2 separate regions of the Homo sapiens genome follow, and region 2 is linked to region 1. The links are contacts of gene promoters, found by promoter capture Hi-C in blood cells and fetal thymus (Javierre and others, 2016). All regions are on one chromosome and are shown on one strand. The core of a region is centred on a gene start or on the middle of the fragment in contact, and the rest is flanking DNA. Distances in the headings are between cores, read along the strand shown.

The links. Contacts are between HindIII fragments. The CHiCAGO score rates a contact against its expected background, and 5 or more counts as called.
Region 2: a fragment that was not itself captured here is called in contact with the fragment with the promoter of KLHL32 in region 1 in 1 of 17 cell types (fetal thymus); the score reaches 6.4 in fetal thymus.

The regions. Positions count from the first base shown.
Region 1 is chr6:96,922,769-96,927,384 of GRCh38, forward strand. KLHL32 (kelch like family member 32) reads left to right here and starts at 1,960. Exons shown (of 11, transcript NM_052904.4): 1 at 1,960-2,258. RefSeq lists a silencer at 1,687-1,996. The HindIII fragment of the contact is 7,655 bases long and covers 1-4,040 here.
Region 2 is chr6:96,874,793-96,879,408 of GRCh38, forward strand. No RefSeq gene overlaps it. Among named protein-coding and RNA genes, the nearest start is that of NDUFAF4, 21 kb to the right of the region's middle. The HindIII fragment of the contact is 174 bases long and covers 2,652-2,825 here.

The DNA of each region.
Region 1 (4,616 bases), core at 710-3,209:
CTCTAGGAGTGGAGTAAACTGCAACATATGTTTGTGTTGAATTTTGGTGGCTATTGAATAAACTAATGTCTCTTATTTTAGAGAAATAAAATACTTAAGACAAAATATAAACTTTAAATCAATACTAAGGAGCCATTTAGGAAAATCTTGCCCTCTCTGAACTAGACATTTTACTAGGCATTTACCATTTAAACCTCAACGCCATGTGTCAATGAACAATATTTAGTGAGCCGATACTATGTGGCAGACATTGTGCTAGGGCCAGGAGATACCCTGAGACACTCAGCTTGGGCAGTAAGAGACTCTTCCATAGTCACACAGATGGTGAGTTGGTGGTGTAAATATTCTTTTCCTGTGTAAATGCAATTATAGTCTTTGCTCTATTTAATTATACTAAATAAATAGCTGCTATTTATTCTAAACAGATAATCCAATCAATATAGATGGGCTTAAAATTTTAAGTATTCTCACTTTAGTGACAAACACCTTGGGGATCTTAAAGGACTGTTTTATTTATTGATACCAGTCACTGTCAATATTTTTGGTTCAAAGACGCTTTCATATTCGATTTTCTGATAGAAGACAACGCAATGAAAACTATCAAGTTGCTTATGAAAAATTCTTAGGATGACACTGCACCTAATGTTTGTAGTCAGTTGTTTGTCATTCTTTCCCTTGTCCTATGCTGTGTCCAGGACTGCTAGATAAGTAGGTACCCAGCATCCTAGCGTCCAGATATCAAAACCATGAAAATGAAGCACTACAAGCCAGACAGATAACCTCCAGAGGGAGCAAACGAATAAACCCCCAAATCCTGTGGATCTAGAAGTAGAAAATAATCGCTGAACCACTGATTTGAGACCAATGAGAACATTAAGGACACCTCAAAATAGATCAGGGCACTGTTCCTAGCCCAACTCTGTGGCAGAACATAAACCTGCAAGAAATAGGATTAACATACTATCTTTGCAGTAAGTTAAATCCTGAACTTCTACAAAATACAGTTTACTCCAATTTAGTTACACTCTTCCTGCTTCTGGTGTCTTACCTCCACGTTGGACTAAGGTTTTCAATTCGGTGGTGGAATACTTACCTATTAAAATTACCCACTTTGCTTTAGTGTGAGTTTCTCAGCATGTTTTACACAGGAGTGACCTGAATGACTCGGAAGTGGCACTTGAGTGTGCCAGGCCCTGGAATTTAATGGTATGGTTCTGTGGTTGTTGTCTGTTTGCGGTTTTATTGCTGAATTAGTAGTAACCACAGTAATCACACCCTTTCTCATTTCTCAGGCTTGGGGATTTCGTCCACCTCTGGCGGGTTGGTTCCCCTGACGTTTCTTAAAGTTACTGTGAATTTGTTCTGGTCAGTACCATAGAGTGTATTATCCTAAGGAGGGCCACTGTAGGGCCGCTAGGACTAGAGGCAACTTGAACTTCACAAGTTAGCAGAGCAAGGACTCCCTGGAACACCGAGTTAGGGCCACGGGGTCTGTTTGCTCAGATTGCCCGCCAGCCCTGGGAAAGGAGTCTGGGGGCGAGCAGGCTGGGTTCCCGGGTCTCAGTCGCCGCAGTGGTGGCTACAGACTGCGCATGTGACCCAGGGGCCGGCGACGCAGGTGCCGGAGAGCGAGGAGGAGGGCGGCGTGGAGGAGGGTACTTCCGGGACCGGCGGGCGCGCGCTGGCAGCTCGCCGACGGCGGGGGCGGGGGCGGGGGGCGGCAGGGGAGCGAGCGCGCTGGCGGCGGGCGGTGGCGTTGCGCGCGGGGTGGCGAAAGGATGTGCGCGGGATCGCGGGGGAGGGGGAGGGAGCGCGCGGGCTAGCTGGAGGCGGGAGGGGGCGGAGCCCTGTGGCGTCTGAACCCGCCCCGGGGGTGCCAAGGTGCGTCTCCAGTCTGACGCGACCGCCTGGGGCGGAGTCAGCGGGACGTGCCACCTGCAGTGCTGGCTAGGGCTTTTTATTTACTAGGGAGCAGTTTCCCCGCGCGACAGTTCGGGAGCGCGCAGGCAGTCGCGCGCACACACGCACGCAGGCACACACACACACACACACACACACACACACACACTTTCGCACACACAAACACGCTAGGACGCTCGTCTTCGCTACTGCATCCCCGAACCAGCAGAGCGAAGCTACTGCGGGTTCTGTTAACCTCAGCATCGTGGGGCGAAGCAGAGCCATTGTGCATCAAGGAGAGGCCGGTGCCTGCGCTGCCGTCTCTGGCACCTAACCCAGCAGACCGCTCACCCCATCGGGTAAGCCAGTCTCTCTCCTTGTAACCTGTTCTGCAGACCTGAGGAAGAGGGTGGGAGGCTGCTGGTGCGCCAAGTGGGGGCAGACCCGGAGTTGACATTTCAGGGGCTTGCAGCCCATGCAGCCTCTGCCCGTGTCGTCTAACGGGAGCAGCCACTACTCAGGTTACTTATGCTGCCAGCCCTGGAGTCGCTCCCCCTTTCTTCCCTCCCCCTGAGCCCAATATGTACTGTGCTCCTTGGTTGCCAAGGAGACTTGCTTAAACATCAGCCGTGGGACATCTATTGAAAGAACTGGTTTCTTAAATGATGCCGTTATTTATTTTGATATTTAAAATAAAATATACACTGAGGACCTTTCGTAATTTGGCATTTGTTAATCTGTATTCAGGTGGCGGTTTCATTCAACTTCAAGAAAAGCCGTAATTGCACTATATGGTATGCTTTAAAAAGGATTCGTCAGATGAATTTTTCAACGGATTGTGTCTTGAATCATAATTTACTCCCATTTTGGTGATCTTATAAAGAAAGATGACTGCAGTTTAGATCCCTTCTTCCCCTCTATTTCCAGTTTTATTTTGCAGTTCACTTAGTCGTGATTATTTTAAATTAAAAGCAGATGATTTAATTGTGTTTCCCCACACAAGAATGAGCTTCTATTGTAAATTGACCAGAACAGGAATACGTTTGTGAATTCGTAACGTAAGAAGGTAGCATTCATGACATACATCTTTGCTAGCATTTTTATATCCCCTGCATCAGTATTGAAGCGCAGTTTTTTGCACCTCTGCTCATTTCTGAGAAGATTCTGTTTTTTAAAAAATCTCTTATTGATTATTTTTAGATCTATCTCTATACACAGATAGAGATAGATATAAAATGTGTGCCATGGCTTACTAGAGCTTATATGAAAGTGCAGTGGTTTTTGCTTTTTGTTTTTTTTCTGATGGGACTGGGTCCTCTACTGGAACACTGATAGGCCAATGGAACAGGTCAGCCTAATACCTGGGCTGTCAGTTTTGTTTTATTTTGAGGTCTCGGGTGTCTATTGGGTGAACTTGTAACACAGTACTTGAAGGCATCAGCAATCCAGTAATTACACTTTGCACGAATTTCATGCCTCCATCACAAACAAATGGCCCAGTAAAGATCCACTGGCATTCAAGAATTAATTTTGTTTTCCTTGGATATTTGTTCATCTTTTCTACTTCTTGTTAAATGACCCAAGGAAATAAGTCAAATTCTTCTAATTTAGATTTTAAACTCTGTCATAGAGAGTGTAATAAATAATGTGAGGAGCAAGTAAGCCAAATAATGACAGAGGTAGATAGAGGGGATTTATGCAATTCACAGAGCTTTGGGAGATGAATGATGACAAACATTTTACATTACAGTGTAGAAAGCACTTTTCATATACTTCTTTTTTAATCCTCACAACAACCCTTTGAGGCCAATAAATTACCTTCCATTTAAAGCTGAGGAACCCAAGACTCAAACCTTGCTGAAGGTCACAGCTAGTGAATGGGGAAGCCCTTTCTGGATCCAGTCTCCTTGCCTTTAAAAAAAAGTTGTGTGTGCGTTTCAGATGTGTGCAGGGATCTGACAAGTGAGATAAAGGAGTGGAGCAGGCCTAGACAAGACACGTGGGAGAGAGGGTAGGGAGTGGAGTGTGAACTGTGGCCTCTGGAACTTGCAAACCACTGTAAAGGAGGCAGCTCCCACTCCACTGTAGCCGATTGTTACTGTCCAGGCTCTAAAACATGACAGTTTTTTAAGGAAAACAGAAGCTTCTGGATTTTTTTTATGAGGTATCCTTAATTTTAAAAACTGTAAGGACCACATTAAAAATTGTATCTGGGTCATATCTAGCCTGTGGCCTGCTAGTTAGCAACCCATAATTACTGATGTCTCACTCAATTATAAGTTAGTATTCTCTAACAAAATACTGATGTGAAAAAATACATCCATCATTGTGAGTGATCAGTTTTTTATTTCAATATTAAAGTCTAATAAATGCTCTACCTTTGTTTTTCAATAAACAGGTTCAAAAATTTTTTGAGGTTTTCTAGATCTCTGTCTTATATCTCAGAAAATAAAAGACCATGAAGTGCTCTAAAATAGGAATTTTTGAATCTGGTGAAACAAAAGCATATATAGTTTAGAACTTATGTTCCTGGCTTAATGTTTTTTTTCTTGCCATAAGGCCAAGAAGTGGAGAAAAACTCAGTTGAGTGCTTGTTATAGGAAGACGTAGGATTGGTCAGCAAATGGAGCATCCTGAGCCTTTAATGAAAATGTCTGATTAAAGTGTTAGATAATTAGGTAAAACCCACCACTGAATACTGCAAGATGCCAAAGGAA
Region 2 (4,616 bases), core at 1,489-3,988, 47 kb before region 1:
ATTAATCTACACAATAGAAGTTAGAACAGTGGTTACCTGGGGCGAGGCTGAGGCATTACTGACTGCGAATAAGCAGGAGGGAATGTTCTGAGATGACTGAAATGTTCAATATCTTCCTTTAGGTAGTGGTTACAATGGGTATATACATAAGTAGGAAGTAACTGAGCTGTACACTTATAGTTTATGTATTTTTCTGAGTGATAATTATACCTCAATTTTTTAAAAATAACATGGTTAGGTCCCTACCTTCAAGAAGTTATAATACGAGTGAATTAACAGCCATACAATGTGATATGCACAATGATATGCTTAGTGAACAGTGTCCATGAAGCTCAGAGGAGGAAACAATTCCGTCTGGAGAAGGCTCAAAGGTACCGCAAGCAAATGTGGAATTGGTGTTTAATTATGACCTTTATGCCAGGAAAGTATCTCAAGAATATCACCATTTTCCTATTCCCTGGTATATTGGAATCATTTTTAAAAATCTAACTGAATATTAATTCTAAGCAGCCCACCATTGGCATTGTAGGCATTATTGCTATATATTTAATCTTCACTCACTATGTCCTGTCACACAGTCCAATTTACTCCAACATATGCCTATCAGGTTCTTAGCACCCCTGATGTTGGGGTGATGGGACAGGCACAGACAGAAGTAAAACAAAATTCTGGCCTGCAAGGAATTTGTAATTTTTCAAAATACCTCTAATATCCATCTTTTCTCCATTTCTACTGACACCATCTAAGACCAGTTCTTGTTCCTGCAACAACTGAACGAGTCGAAATAAATTACTACCCCATCTTCCTGCTTTCCAGCACTTTCACAGCCCCAATTATCCCATGCATACTATTCTCATCAATTATTTTTGATGTTCAGAATGGCTCGGGAGCTTCCTGGGGCCTAATGCATCAATTGTAAACTCTTCAGCATGGCTTATCAAGTCTTGCACAATTTGGTTCCCCCAGTACTGCTCCAGAAAGAGTAACGTCTACTAAGTGGCAGTGACACTGTAAAGACACATGAGAGAAAAACAATTCTTAGCTTACATGTGCTTTGAACTTTTTCATTTTTAATGGAACACCTTCAATTTATTATTTAAAATGTGTTATATTAATTGTAGTATGATACAGGCTGGATTCTGTCTATGTGGATCTGTTATGGTCTGAAGTGTTCATTTATTCATTCAAAAATCATTTACTGAGCCGGGCGCCGTGGCTCACGCCTGTAATCCCAGCACTTTGGGAGGTCAAGGCAGGCAGATCACAAGGTCAGGGGTTCGAGACCAACCTGGCCAATATGGTGAAACCCCATCTCTACTAAAAAGTACAAAAATTAGCTGGGTGTGGTGGCGGGCTCCTGTAATCCCAGCTACTCAGGAGGATGAGGCAGGAGAATCGCTTGAATCCAGGAGGCGGAGGTTGCAGTGAGTTGAGATGGCACCACTGCACTCCAGCCTGGGTGACACAGCAAGACTCCAACTCAAATAAATAAATAAATATCATTTACTGATCAATTTCTCTGTGTTCTATATTAATGAAATACAGAAATATAAAAGACCAATCTACTGTCAAAGAGGGAAACACCAAGATCAAAAACATATACATAGAGTTTTTCCTTTTTTTACGCTGCATAAAATCCTTCTTCCCTCCAGGGGTACCCACAATAGCACTCCCTGGGGCAGCTGTAATTTCCAAAAAGAGATACATGGAGTGGGATGCTGAAAAGTGTCCTGAAACACATGCCCTTGCATTATAAAATGTTAAGAGAAAAAATAAGGCAAAAACTTGAGTCAGTCTGGTGCTTTCCTCTGTAGGGCCTATGAGGATACATGTTTCTTCCCTCATTGAGTCAGATTTTATGATCATAGTGTCCTCAGATACAAGATTCAAATCATTTTCAAGAGCCTAACATCATTATTTTAAAACAAGGCACTGCCATTTTAAGCAAAACAGATTATGTAAATGTCAGTATATTTTAAAACAATCGAATTTCTCTTTAGCTAGGAACCATTCATTCTGTAAGAGTCTTTTTTCAGCATCTAAGGTTGGTATTGTTGTATACTAGAGAAGCCAAAATTCAGTGACCAGTTTTACTTTTCTGCCAAAAAGCCTGATTATTTTTAAACATTCCTGATAGACATTTTGCATCTCTTTTTCTACTCTGAATTTGAGTCGCAGCCTTCTGGCAATATGATGTTTTCAAGCACAGATTCGATATGTATAAGCCATCCGTTTTTCTGAAGATTTATAATCGGTAATTTTAGAAGGATTCCGGCCTTTATCACATCTTAGTTTAATGAAACATCTATGCTAGTATTTTCTAAAGTTCTTTTGGAAACAAAATCTCCTGAAAGAGTTCCAGCCTGTGAAAGTGAAAAACTCATTTAAATAATCAGTTCCGAACAACATTTCTGTTTATGTTAAGAATGCTGCTCTGATATTTAAAGTGGTTTAAGAAATCCAACCAGTGAATATAAAATTAAGCATAATTTTCTCTCCTCTAAGAGAGCACGGAAGCTCCAGAGAAACTGGCAACTCAGAAGATGTGTGGCACCGTGCCCGCTCCAAGGAGTAATGCTGAATGCTTTTGCATTCAGGTTTTGCAAAAACTTCATGCACTTCAGAACCCATGCTTACTAACTGAATTTTCAAGCTTCTCTTTTCCCCTTTCTTGTGGAAGCCCAACTTCCTGTGCCATCATTGAGCATACTGAGGCTCCCTGATCTTTCTCAAAATTCTACTAATAAGCCAAATGTACAATTTCAAACAAAGAAAGCCATTTTCTGGTCCCAAGGCTAGAGCTTTGAAAGTGTGGAAAGTTCAAAAGCTTAAGTTTTTTATTTGACTCCTTTTGGCTCAAATGTTGAATGGTCATTTAATTATTTTTTAAAAATGTATCCTGTTATTTCACGGGGTAAAAAGGGAACTTCATGAGACTCAGGAAGACAATACCCAAGCAAATGCCTGGGCATTAAAGATTGGATACAGAGAAGGATCTTTCAAAACACCTAGGAGAGCTCTTAATTTACTGATGCTCTGGTTTCACTCACCAAGGTACCATTATCTGTGTCTCAAAGGAAGTGCAGGTTAGAGAGCATGTGGGCCCAGGCCTCTTTGATACAGGGATCACCTTCTGTGGGTTGCTCTCCTTCCAGGCTAAAACCCATCATCTTCGAGGGTTGGAGGGTGTGGGCCGTGGTGGATCCTGCGGGGTCAGCTCCTAGGTTAAAATGTAGGCCCACTTTGGGGGATCCAACCTCATCTTTATGGCAGGTTTTCTTACCGTGGAGTAGGAGGTCTCATACCAGCAAGGACAGAAGTTTTGCCTGTTTCTTTCACAGAGGAGTCTAGTAGGGTAACATCAATCTTTTTCAGCTGTTATTCCACATTTTTTAAAACCACAGTCATCTTTTTGCCTTACATCTTTTTGCTTCACCCACATTTGTTGAAAAACTTTAATGGGTGGCCAGTACAGCTATAAATTACTCTGACTCTTAATTCCATTTTCTTCATAAAATTCAACACTGACTCATTATGGTTTGAAATGTTTATTCAGGATTAGTGAGAAATTACAGCTGGTTAGACAGCCAGAGGGCCTTTTTCATTACAATGAGAAATAAACATTGAATTCTGAGAGTAACAAGCCATGTACTGCCTTGAAACAAGCATGGCATGAATCTGATTTCAGCAAACTCTGAAGCCCTTATTCAGGTTAAAGTGAACCAAAAATGTAGCAGCTCAGGGCTGTGTGCAATTTTAGATTGAGTGTCCTCATTATAGGGTAAAAATAGAAATATCTAGGTAATATTACTGTGTTGTTCTGAGGTAAAGCAAGGAAATGAGCCTCTGTGACTTCAGTTTCTTCTGGAATCCTTCTGAGAATAAGATGTTTATTAAGCTAAGTATACAACATGATGAATGAGGAAGGATAAATGATCGGCTAAATTGTATACTACATTGAAAAAAATAAACACGAAGTTGGAATTTTGAAAAAGGAAAATTAGATTGCTGGGAAAGAGAGGAGTTTGAGTCCTGGAGGAGGAAAATAGCTTAATCTCCTTTCTCCATCCTCTCTGACATATCAGTGAAAGTAAATCAAGACTGCTGCAGATATGTGCATTACTTTAAAACCTTTTTAGCTGTATCTTCATCCCTGGCTTACCCAGCCTCAAAACTATCATTTTCCTCTTTTATTTTTAGAATAAGTAAAAGTATTAATATATGCAAATAGGATTCTTGAAAATCCAAGGAAAAATTCAAACTGCCTTCCTCAAATTCTTGACAACGTTTTATGTCTTCCTTTTCAAAAAGAAACCTACCTTCCTTCTCTCTCTGACAATGAGGAAGGACCATTGTCAGAAGATAAAGGATAAACTTTTGCTGCTCCACCTTCACCTTTTGACCAAAGATGTTTTTAATACTGTTGTGTCCAATTGCTTTGTCTCATTCTTTGATGTTTCAAGTAGGCCAGAACAAAATCTAGACCAGCCCCTCCCAGCTTCCTTCCAAATCCTAAATTAATATAGCAGGGAGTGTGGGGGAGGCTATTTTTCATTTTTCATACCCATAATTGTTTGAAGGGGCACTGTATGGCCTCCAAGTTCTGACTGATAGGG